2 separate regions of the Homo sapiens genome follow, and region 2 is linked to region 1. Evidence: promoter capture Hi-C in 16 types of primary human blood cells and fetal thymus (Javierre and others, 2016). All regions are on one chromosome and are shown on one strand. The core of a region is centred on a gene start or on the middle of the fragment in contact, and the rest is flanking DNA. Distances in the headings are between cores, read along the strand shown.

Evidence for each region. The method cuts DNA at HindIII sites, captures the fragments that hold promoters and counts their contacts. A CHiCAGO score of 5 or more calls a contact.
Region 2: a fragment that was not itself captured here is called in contact with the fragment with the promoter of PDK2-AS1 in region 1 in 1 of 17 cell types (endothelial precursors); the score reaches 5.7 in endothelial precursors.

Annotation. Positions count from the first base shown.
Region 1 is chr17:50,100,923-50,105,781 of GRCh38, reverse strand. It overlaps PDK2-AS1 (PDK2 antisense RNA 1), which reads left to right and starts at 3,386. Exons shown (of 2, transcript XR_007065842.1): 1 at 3,386-3,929; 2 at 4,717-4,859. It overlaps PDK2 (pyruvate dehydrogenase kinase 2), which reads right to left. Exons shown (of 11, transcript NM_002611.5): 3 at 340-411. RefSeq lists an enhancer at 4,169-4,778. The HindIII fragment of the contact is 6,546 bases long and covers 1-4,859 here.
Region 2 is chr17:50,177,497-50,182,908 of GRCh38, reverse strand. No RefSeq gene overlaps it. Among named protein-coding and RNA genes, the nearest start is that of SGCA, 14 kb to the right of the region's middle. RefSeq lists enhancers at 92-987, 1,447-1,741. The HindIII fragment of the contact is 3,208 bases long and covers 2,072-5,279 here.

The DNA of each region.
Region 1 (4,859 bases), core at 2,137-4,636:
ATGGACTCCCAGTGCCCTCCCTGCTCCTCCCAAAGCCCACTCTGATCTTTTAGCTGCCTGCCGGCAGGCTTCCCACTCGAAAGCCCAGAGTTCTCATCCTCCCCATGGCAGGGCCTGGGTCTTGCCCACCGGGCTCAGGGAACAGTGAGAATGGAGTCCATGTCTCTCCCATCAAACTTGGGGCTCCCTGAAGCAGAGTCTGTCTCCCCACTCAGACTGGATGTTTCTGAAGGCAGGGGTCTTTTCTTCCATCCTGCTGTACTTCTGCCCCAGGGGCTGCAACCCCAGATGCCCCTGGCCAACACCTGCCTTCCTGCCCCACCCAGGGCCCCCACTCACTGGCTCAGGGTGCGATGGTCCTCGGGATCCTTGTCCAGGAACTCCATGATGTCCAGGAGGCTCTGGACATACCTGTGTGGGGGCGGGAGGGGACACAGCCTCAGCTTCAGGTGGCTAGCCCCTCCTCACCCACTTCATTCAACTGGGCCTTGCTCTTGTCCTGCTCCTACGCGGGCCCCACACAGAGCTGCCGACAAGCCGCCTCACTATTTTTCTCCATCCATTTCATTTGTATGTGAGTCTCCCTGACAACCCAGTCAGTTATGCAAGAAAACTTCAAATTTGCTGGTCCCCCGTTTAGCACCTTTGCTTTGGAATCCTAGAATAGTCCTCTCAGAAGGGGCTTGGAGATGATCCCATCTAAGAGGACTCACAGATCAGGAGACTGAGGCTGAGATGGGGCAGGGAGACTGGACCTAGCGCCTGCAGTGGGGGAAGGCAGGGAGGTGCATCAACTTCTCTGAGCCCCAGTGTGGAAACAGCTCCTAATGTTTCTCCCCGCCGGGGTGTTGTTGCATCCAGTGGGCACAATGGCAGAAGGGCCAGCACAGGGCCTCCTGGAGTGACCCCCGGCAGAGGAGACAGCACGGGGCCTCCCAGAGTGACCCCTGAGCTGGGGTGATCTGGGCCAGGCACCTGCCTCGGCAAGTGGATTCTAAAATGGCAGGTGGGAAGGACCCAAAGGTGGGGTGGGCGTGCCTGGCTCTGTCCCCAGGTGGGGCTGGGGCCCATGGAGAGTCCAGAGAAGCTCACTCTACTGCAAAAGGCCAGGTAGCAGTGGGTGATGCCCTGCCACCTCCTCCCATCTACAGGCCTGATGGGGAGGCCAGTTTTCCCTGGGCTAAGAGAAGAGCTTGATGCTCTAAAAGGAGCATCAAGAATCCCTGAACTTAGCCAGGTGTGGTGGCTCACACCTGTAATCCCAGCACTCTGGGAGGCTGAGGTGGGCGAATCACCTGAGGTCAGGAGTTCAAGACCAGCCTGGCCAACATGGCAAAAACCTGTCTCTACTAAACATGCAAAAATTAGCTGGGCATGGTGGTGCACGCCTGTAATCCCAGCTACTCGGGAGGCTGAGGTAGGAGAATCGCTTGAACCTGGGAGGCAATGGTTGCAGTGAGCCGAGATCGCTCTATTGCACTCCAGCCTGGGTGACAGAGCAAGACTCTGTCCCCCCAAAAAATAAGCCCTGAACTCAGGGACAGCAGCAGGCCTCCTTCTGCAAGGGAGTCAGGTCCACCTGTGGTGGCAGATGGTACCAAGCTGGAGCCACTGTGCCCCGTGCCCTGGGGAGCCATGACCTGTTTCCCTGCTAACATGTCCAGTCTGTGGCTTGTTCCTTTGGGGAAGGCAGGAAGAGCCTCTCTCTGGCAGAAACACTTATAACCAGGAGGAAGGGGGGGCGCTACCTAGAGCCCTGCAGTGCCAAGGGCCCCAGGGGCCCAACAGTATTTCTAGAAAAGGCCCCTCCACACGAGGACTCATTCCCATGTCCACAGTGCTCTGGCCTTCACTGTAACCTGTAACAGGCAGACAGGCAGGAATCAGCCCCACGCACAGCCTCCCCCAGGGAGGCGTAAGCAGCCCCATAGCTAGTAAGTGGGATGATGAAGCCCCCGAGTCTCCAGCGCTCTTGCCACTCCAGAGTGCTGATTCTGCTCGACTCTCACCTCCACGCTTCTGTTCACACAGTGCCCTCTGCTAGGAATGCCCTTCCCCTTAAACCTAGTATTGCTGCTCTTCTCGCTCTTGCCTGACAGAGAAGAGAGTGAAAGAACCAGCTCTGGACCCAGACCTGGCTCTTTAAGCACTTGGAGCTGTGTGGCTCTGGGTAAGTCATGGAACCTCTCTGGGCCTGAGTTTGCTCATTAGGAAAATGGGGATTGTTATATCTATTTATGACTGCTTTGTGGTGAGAATTCCATGTGATGATTAGCACAGTGCCTAGCACATAGTGAGCACTCTCTAATGCTTGCTCTTATTATGGCTGGTGGCTCAAACACTGTCAACAGCTGCATGCATCCTCTGAGCCCCCAGGCAGCATCTGATACTCTCCCACTGCTTGTAGGCTCTGAATCACAGCATGTTGGAGCCCCTGTGCCCTGGAGACCTGCCCCACTGCCACACGAAGGGGGCTGTCTCAGGCCCAGAGCTCACCGCCCACCCCTCCCTACCCAGAGCTCTGCACAGAGCCCGATAGGAGGAGCTGTGGCTGCTGATGGGGCTGGGGGCCCCAACAGCAGAAAAGATCAGCCTTTCTCTCAGCCCCCATCACCATCCCTGCCACCCCAGCAGACAATCAGGCTGGCACTCCTAAGACCTCACCTGTCTCCCTGGAGAAGAACATAGCGACCACTAACACCCACTTGTGCCGAGTCCCACACAGGGTCTCTCATCTGCCAACAGCCTTGATGAGCACAAGGTATTTCCCTGTTTTTGCAGACAACGAGACCAGCACTGAGAGGTTAGTGATATGCCCCAGGCCACATAGTAAGCAGCAGGTTGGGATTCAAACCTAGCTCTTGCAGACTCCAAGTCTACACCACGTGGCCAACGGCCAACACGGGCCCTGACGGTGATGCCGCTGCTGATGGTGATGGTGGCATTTACTGGGTACCAATAGCCAGGTCCACCCTGTGCTTCCCTCCTGCCCCACTTTCACCTCCACAAGAACCCCAGAGGTGGGCGCTACTGCTGGACCCATTTTACAGATGAGGAAGTTAACACACAGAGCTGAGATTCTCTCATCCAGGCCTATGTGGCTCCGAATCCCTTGCTCCCTAAACGCACCCAAAATAGACCTTCATGCTCATATGATTCTTAGGGGAGAGAGGGCCCGCACACAGGCAGTGCTAGGGGCAGGTGGGGAGAGGAGGGGGAGGAGACCCACTGCAGAGTGGGGCCTGAGGCCCCTTCCCAGGAGGCAGGTGGGGATGAAGCGGGTGGGAGCTGGGAGGCTAAGCCACTTCCTGACTGTGCTGGGCAGTGGGTGGGGGTGGGCATGGTCAAAGTCCCAGTCTCACTTAGGGAGAGTGCCCCAGCTGCTGGCACCACCCCTTTTGTGGCTGCTCAACAACCCTAGAGGGCAGGAATGGGGCCTGGTCACGTGGCCACTGAAGTGGAGCAAAGGGCACCGGCATGGAGTGACAGCGGGCAGCGCCTGCCAGCCTCCCTCACAGGGCCAGGGCTCCTCCAGGGCAAGGGGCCCAGGCTACTCTTGGAATGGAGGGGAGAGGATGAGGATTTTCCCCGAGGTCCCTGGCCTTGCCCTGAAGCCCCTCAGGGGCCTGGTGCACCAAATGTCAACCTTGGGCCGGTTCTTGATCCTAAGAAGGGAGATTGGGGACGAGTGGCGCTGGCCTCTGGGCTGCCCACCCCTTGCAGGCCAGAGAGAGAACTGGGCTTATATAAGGGAGGCCTGAAGCAGTGGTGCAGTGACAGACAGGCACCAACAGGCGGGAGAGGCATTGCCCCCACCCCTCCCCAGGACCTGCAGGGAGGCTGGGGTCTCTGGGCCTGCTGACCTCTGCAGTAATCAAGGCCCCCAGGAGTCCCTTGGTGAGATCCGGAGCTCCCAAGCCCAGCCCAAGGTAATGTGGAGATCCACCCAAACCCTGCTTTCCAGGGCTCCAGAGCCAGTCCAGAGCCCCAGGAATGAGAAGGAGGAGGGGTGGATGCAGGCAGAAGCCAGGAGGCTTGCTGAGAGTGTGGGGCTGATAATGGGCGGTGGGGGCGGGAGGAGAGGGTGAGTGAGTGGGAGGAGGGCCCTGCAGCCCTGTGTGGGAGCAGAGGGGGTGCTGAGCCAGCGGGGGAGTGTGTGTAATTGTGTGCATGTGGCATGTGCATGCCTGTGGGTGTGTGCGAGGGTGTGCCCTGTGCACTCGTATCCACAGCTGCTGGGGAGCAGGGTGTAAACAAGGCAAAGGCTGGGGAGGAGGGTGCTCGCTGCACTTGGGGGAGAGGTGGCGGTGTCCCGCCTCCGGAGCCTCTGAGCCAGGCAGGTTTGGGTTCCGCTGCTGATTGTGCCCTAAAGAGGCCACCGAGTCCCTCGGGTCCCCATTTGCAAAATGGGGTTCATGGGAGTAAGCACCTCATGGGCCTGGGTGTACAGAAAAGATGATGCCTCGAGTACATGCGCAGTAAGTGGTCGGTCCTGCTCGGTCATGCAAGGAGCGGCTGACGGGTTTGGAGAGCTCGTGTGGCTTTAGCAGGTCCTGGGCACCCAAGCCACACCCCCTGTATGGGGTCCACACACCTTGCTGACGGGCAAGGGAGGTTTGTGCGAAGGTGCCGGCCATATCGCCTCCCACCTACAGCCCCCACAAAGAGCCTGTTAGTGACAGCAGTGAGTCATTGTCATTTGATTCTACTCTGCAGCTCCTGCTTAACCCTGCATTTTCTGGAAGCACATCCCCACAGACTCCACGCCTGGAGAGGAGCCGGGGTTGTCCCTTTCCGTCTCTAACAACACCGGCTGTCAACAATTTTGTAAAGTGAGTTCTGCTCTCCCACAGACTTGC
Region 2 (5,412 bases), core at 2,426-4,925, 77 kb before region 1:
TAATATCGTGATGTCATTAAGTATTCATGGCCGTTCATTATGGCCTTCAATAATTCATCATTAGCACTTCTACCACACTTAGGACAGTGTAGAAAGGGAATCAGTGTAGAGAGGATAAGAATGATGGCATATAAATGAAGGCTTATTCATATGCAAATTACCCAAAGTTGTGTGATGCCTATCCATCTCTCTTTCTCTCTTTTTTTTGAGACAGAGTCTCACTCTGTCACCCAGGCTGGAGTGCGGTGGCGCAGTCTCAGCTCACTGCAACCTCCGCCTCCCAGGTTCAAGCAATTCTCATGCCTCAGCCTCCCAAGTAACTGGGATGACAGCCATGCACTACCACGCCCAGCTAATTTTTATATTTTTAGTAGAGTCAGGGTTTTACCATGTTAGCCAGCCTGGTCTCGAACTCCTGGCCTCAAGTGATCCACCTGCCTCAGCCTCTCAAAGTGCTGGGATTGCGGACATGAGCCACAGCACCAGGCTCCATCTCTTGATCAATGTGTTGATTGCTTGGTGATGCCTGCCATGCTGCCCAGGAAACCCTGTCCACTTGGACCTCTGGGACTTTAGGACCCTGGCTGTCCAGGCCACATCCCCATCTGCCCTCGTGGGGGACCCAGGGACATCCTGAGCCTGGCATCCAAGGCTCTACCTGGCCACTACCCACCTGCCCAGGCTCACTGTCCCCTCCCCTGCCCACATCTGTCACACCAACCAAAAAGGGTGGCCAACAGTTCTCACAAATGCACTGCATTTCCCCACTTCCAGGCCTTCTAGATGTCCTTTCTCTCTGCATGCTCAACACCCTACTGTCCGGGCCATGCTCAAATGTCTCATTCTCTTCCCATTCCCTTGCCCAACCCAGCCTGAGCTCAGCCCCTCTGAGTTTCCAAAGCTCTCCAGATCCACATAGCTCCCCTCGGTCCTTCATCCTAGGATTGTGGATGTGGTCATGTTTCCATCCTGTTATTCTCTCCAGACTAGAGGCCAGGTGTTGCAATGCAGGGCTAGGCAGAGTCTGTGCTTAGGTACTGGGGAGACTAAAGAGAGAGAGACTGAGCTAGAGAGGCCACCCATTAGGTGAGAGCATGGCGCTGTGTGTGCTTGGTGCACAGGAGTGAGCGAGTGTGAGAGGAAGAGCAAGTGGAAGGCCCATGGGGGAGCAGACAGCAACGGAGGGCGCAGGGCAGGGCTTTCTGCAGCAACAGACATGTCCTAGAGCTGCACCGCCCAGTGCGGTAGCCGCTAACCACATGCAGCTGTTGAGCATGTGAGATGCAGTTAGTGTGACTGAGGAATGCAGTTTCCACTTTTACTGAATTGCAATTAGTTTTACTAACTATATGTGGGATAAGGGTTACCATACGGGGCAGCAGAGCTGTAGGCAAAGGAGTGAATATGCCTCTTGTCACCTCTGTACAAATCTACATGTGGGTACGTGGGTGTGTGTGCACACGCGTGGGCATGTATGTGGACACACGCACTGTGGGTCAGGGCTGCAGCGGGGGCAGCCTTGTGTGGCAGTGCCCCATGGGCAGCTCTGAGCCTGCATCACGTGGTGTGGGGCCGGTGTGTGGTTTCAGTGTGTACAGGACAGGAGGGGAGGGGGACAAAGGGGCCATTGTGCCACATTCCCAACTCAAACCCTCCTTTCCGCTGACATCACAGCCGCCCTAAATACAGCCACCCAGACCCGCTCCCCGAGACCCTCACTATCTCCTGCAGGGTGTCACAGAGCCTGCCGCTCTGTCAGACTCACCTTTGTCTTCTCTGTGAGAAGGACCAGGCTCCTGATTTTTGGCTGATTTTTCAGTCAAGCCCAGATGGAAAATTCTAGAAAGGGAGGAGGCTTCATTTGGATTTTTAATTTCTGCTGCAATCTCAGAATCCTGGGTCCCTTTTGGGACCTAAGCCCCATCTCCTGGCAGGATTTTCTATCACCGGAATACAGTAGATTTTCCCTCCTTTTTTTTTTTTTTCCCCAGCACCTTAACTCTCAGCTTCCCAGACTTTCTCCAATGACAGAGCTGGGTGGGTGGAGGAGGAGAGGGGTTGCAAGAAAGCTTGCCGGCTGGGGTGAGGAGACTGTGTGTGGAGCAGGCGTGAGCGTGGGCCGCGTGGGAAAGAATGCGAGGCTGCCGTCAAGCCCAGCGTCCACACGAGGAGGCCTGCGATGGCGTCTGAGGGAGCAAGGTGAGTGCCACCAAGGGGTCTCTGTCTCCTGGGGGTGCCTGGTGATGAGAATGTGTCTCACTGTCTGTGCCCACCTACCTGTGCACAAATAAATGTATCTGTGTTCACAGGGGCCTATACACATGTATGTGTGTGGGTTGGGGTGGGCGGGCATCTGTGCATGATGAGGGCAGCTTCCCCACACGTATGGCAGTGAAAGCAACCCTGTGTGAACTGTGAGAACACATGGACTGTGGCATTTGGGACATATGTGTACATGGGCATGACAGAGGGCATAGGAGGGTCTGTCTGTGTGATATGGATGAATGGGGCGGGGGAGCAGAGAGGAGTGTGGGAAAAATTAGTGGGGGCTCGGTGTGGGAGGAGACCACTCTCCTGAAGTCCCCCAGCCAGTGGGAGCCCTGGTGCTGGGAAGGCTGAGTCTCCCTGTCCCCTTCCCCTGTGTGCGCTCCAGAGGGTATCAAGTCAGGCCGAGGGCATGTCCACAGTCAGGGAGGCAAGATCCTGGAAGCAGGAGGGGTCTTGTCCAGGAGGGTGGCAGGCCCTCCCCATGCAGAGATTTCAACCCTTTGCAGAGGATGTGCAAGGCAAGGCCAGGAGGGAGGTGAGTTTGGCACATGCTAATGCTGGAGAAAGTGGGATTTTCTCTGCAAAAGACAGTGGGAGGAACTGGGAAGGGGGTACTGAATGAGAAGGGACAGAGAACCATGATGGGGACTAAAACATTTTAGAGAGGGAGGCCACATACACGTGCAAGTTCTGGATGAATTCACTGCTGTGGGGCAAACTCTGCCCGCAGGCCAGGGCTTCGCTGCTGAGTTCACGGAGGCCTAGGAGAGCAGGTGTTCTGTAGAAAGCAGGGAAAGGGGCTGAGTTCTGGGTGTGAGTTAATCTGGGATGGAGATACAGGAAGAGCCATGAAACCAGCACAGCCCAATAAAGATACAACCCAAGGTGCGGATGTAATTTTTTATGATCTAGCAGCCATTTAAAAAAAGATAAAAAGGGCTGGGGGCGGTGGCTCACGCCTCTAATCCCAGCACTTTGGGAGGCCGAGGCGGGCGTATTGCCTGAGGTCAGGAGTTTGTGACCAGTCTGGCCAACATGGTGAAATCCTGTCTCTACTAAAAATACAAAAAAAAAATTAGCTGGGCCTGGTGGTGTGCGCCTGTAGTCCCAGCTACTCGGGAGGCTGAGGCAGGGAAATTGCTTGAACCAGGGAGGTGGAGGTTGCAGTGAGCCAGGATAGCGCCACTGCACTCCAGCCTGGGCAATGGAGCAAGACTCCATCTGAAAAAAAAAAAAAAAAAAGATAAAAAGGCTGGTGCTGTAGTGCATGTCCTAGCTACTCGGGAGGCTGATGCAGGAGGATCCCTTGAGGCCAGGAGTTTGAGACCAGCCTGGGCAACACAGTGAGACCCTATCTCTACAAAAAAAATTGCAAAAATTAGCCAGATGTGGTGGTGAGTGCCTGTAATCCTAGCTACTTGGTGGCTGAGGCAGGAAGATCACTTGAGTTTGAGGTAACAGTAAGCTATGGTCATGCCACTGCACTCCAGCCTGGGCAACATAATGAGACCTCATCTCAAAAGAATAAATAAGTATCTACAGGTAAAACTAATTTTAGCAATGTCTTTTATTTAACCTAATGTATCCCCAAATCCGATCGTTTCACCATTACACTGAGGTACATCTCAGTTTGGACTAGCCACATCTTAAGTGCTCAGTAGCCACATGGCCTGAGGCTGCTGTACTGGATGGTGCAGCTCTAGGCAGCAGTTCCGTACCAAAGATCATACAAATTTAGGCTTCCACTCCCAATTCACAGGGAGAGATTGAACTTTTTACAAGGTGCAGGTGGAAATGGAGTTCATTTAGCCTGAATCTTAGGGGCCAGGGAGACCCCAGGGACCTCTGGCCTTGTGGGATTGTGTGTGCTTGCATGCAATAATGTGTCCATCCTTGGGAGCTGCCAGAGTGTCCAGTTCCCACAAATTCTCACAACAGCCCCAAGGCGGTTATGATGATCATCTTATGAGTAAACTAACCCTCAGCTGGCTGAGCCAGCTGTTGTGTGGCAGGATCATGATTCCAGTCCTGCTCCGGGGCAGCGTGCAGCAGGGGGCTGAGGCCGGCCCTAGGTGGCGACTTGAGTCACCAGGTCTGGCTGATAGAGAGGTGGTGAGGGAATGTCTGAGCGTCAGGCCACGTGTGGGTGCTGTGTTTAGAAGGAAGGTGGAGGCCACCCACTGGGTAACAGGGGCAATGCCATCATGGGACTGGAGGAGACAGGGGTGGAGCAGAGTGTGCAGCTGGGCCAAGTCTCCCGGTGGAGGTGGCGGTGGGGGCGGCTGCCCTTCTTTGTCCTGGGCTGTGGGGGGTGGAGCTTGACTGCTGGCTGGAATCTTGCACGCCAGGGAGGGGCTGTTGCCCAGTGGGGAGGCGCTAAGTATGTCTGTGCCCTCCCGGCATGCTGCCGGGGGCCTCTGGACGTGTGTGCCCAGGCAGGGCTCAGCGTCTTCTGCAGGCACGCCATCCTCCCAGCTACTTGTCTGGGCCGCTTCCTCTCAGGCCGGCAGCCAGGCTCCCGTGTGCTCTTTGGAGCTGAGCAGAGAGAAAGGCGCTGCCAAGACCCCAAGGCAAAGCCGGGAAGTGAGGAGCTGGCCTTGCACTCTCCCAGCCCTGGCCAGCACAGGAAGAGCACAGGAGGCCCAAGAGCTGCCTGGCTGCAGGGGGCGAGCCCAGAGATGAGGGGTGGGCAGCCTCCTCCTCAAGGGAGCAGGGATCAAGGAGCCACCCCAGGCAGCAGGCTGGCTGCTGGAGCCTCCGGTCTGCGCAACTCCTGGTTTCCTTCAGGAGAAAGAAAGAAATAGCCAAGGAGAAGCCAGAGGCACCCGCTAGTCAAAGAACCCGTTTGGTTATGGCGTGGGCACCTAAAGAGCTAGTCATTCAACAGGCAATTATTAAGCACGTACACTACACCTCAGCCTGCCTCAGCAGATGCTCACGAAACCAGTGTTTGATGAGTTGATTGACTAACTAATGGGTACAGGGAGGCTCAGGAGATAATGGAAGAAGCTTTAGCCATGGCCTTGCTCAACCCCTGTGCCCTGAGAAGGGGAGCAACCTCCTTAAGAACACTGAGCACAGGAACGGTAGCTCACAGCGGTCATCCCAGCTACTCAGGAGGCTGAGGCAAGAGGACCACTTGAG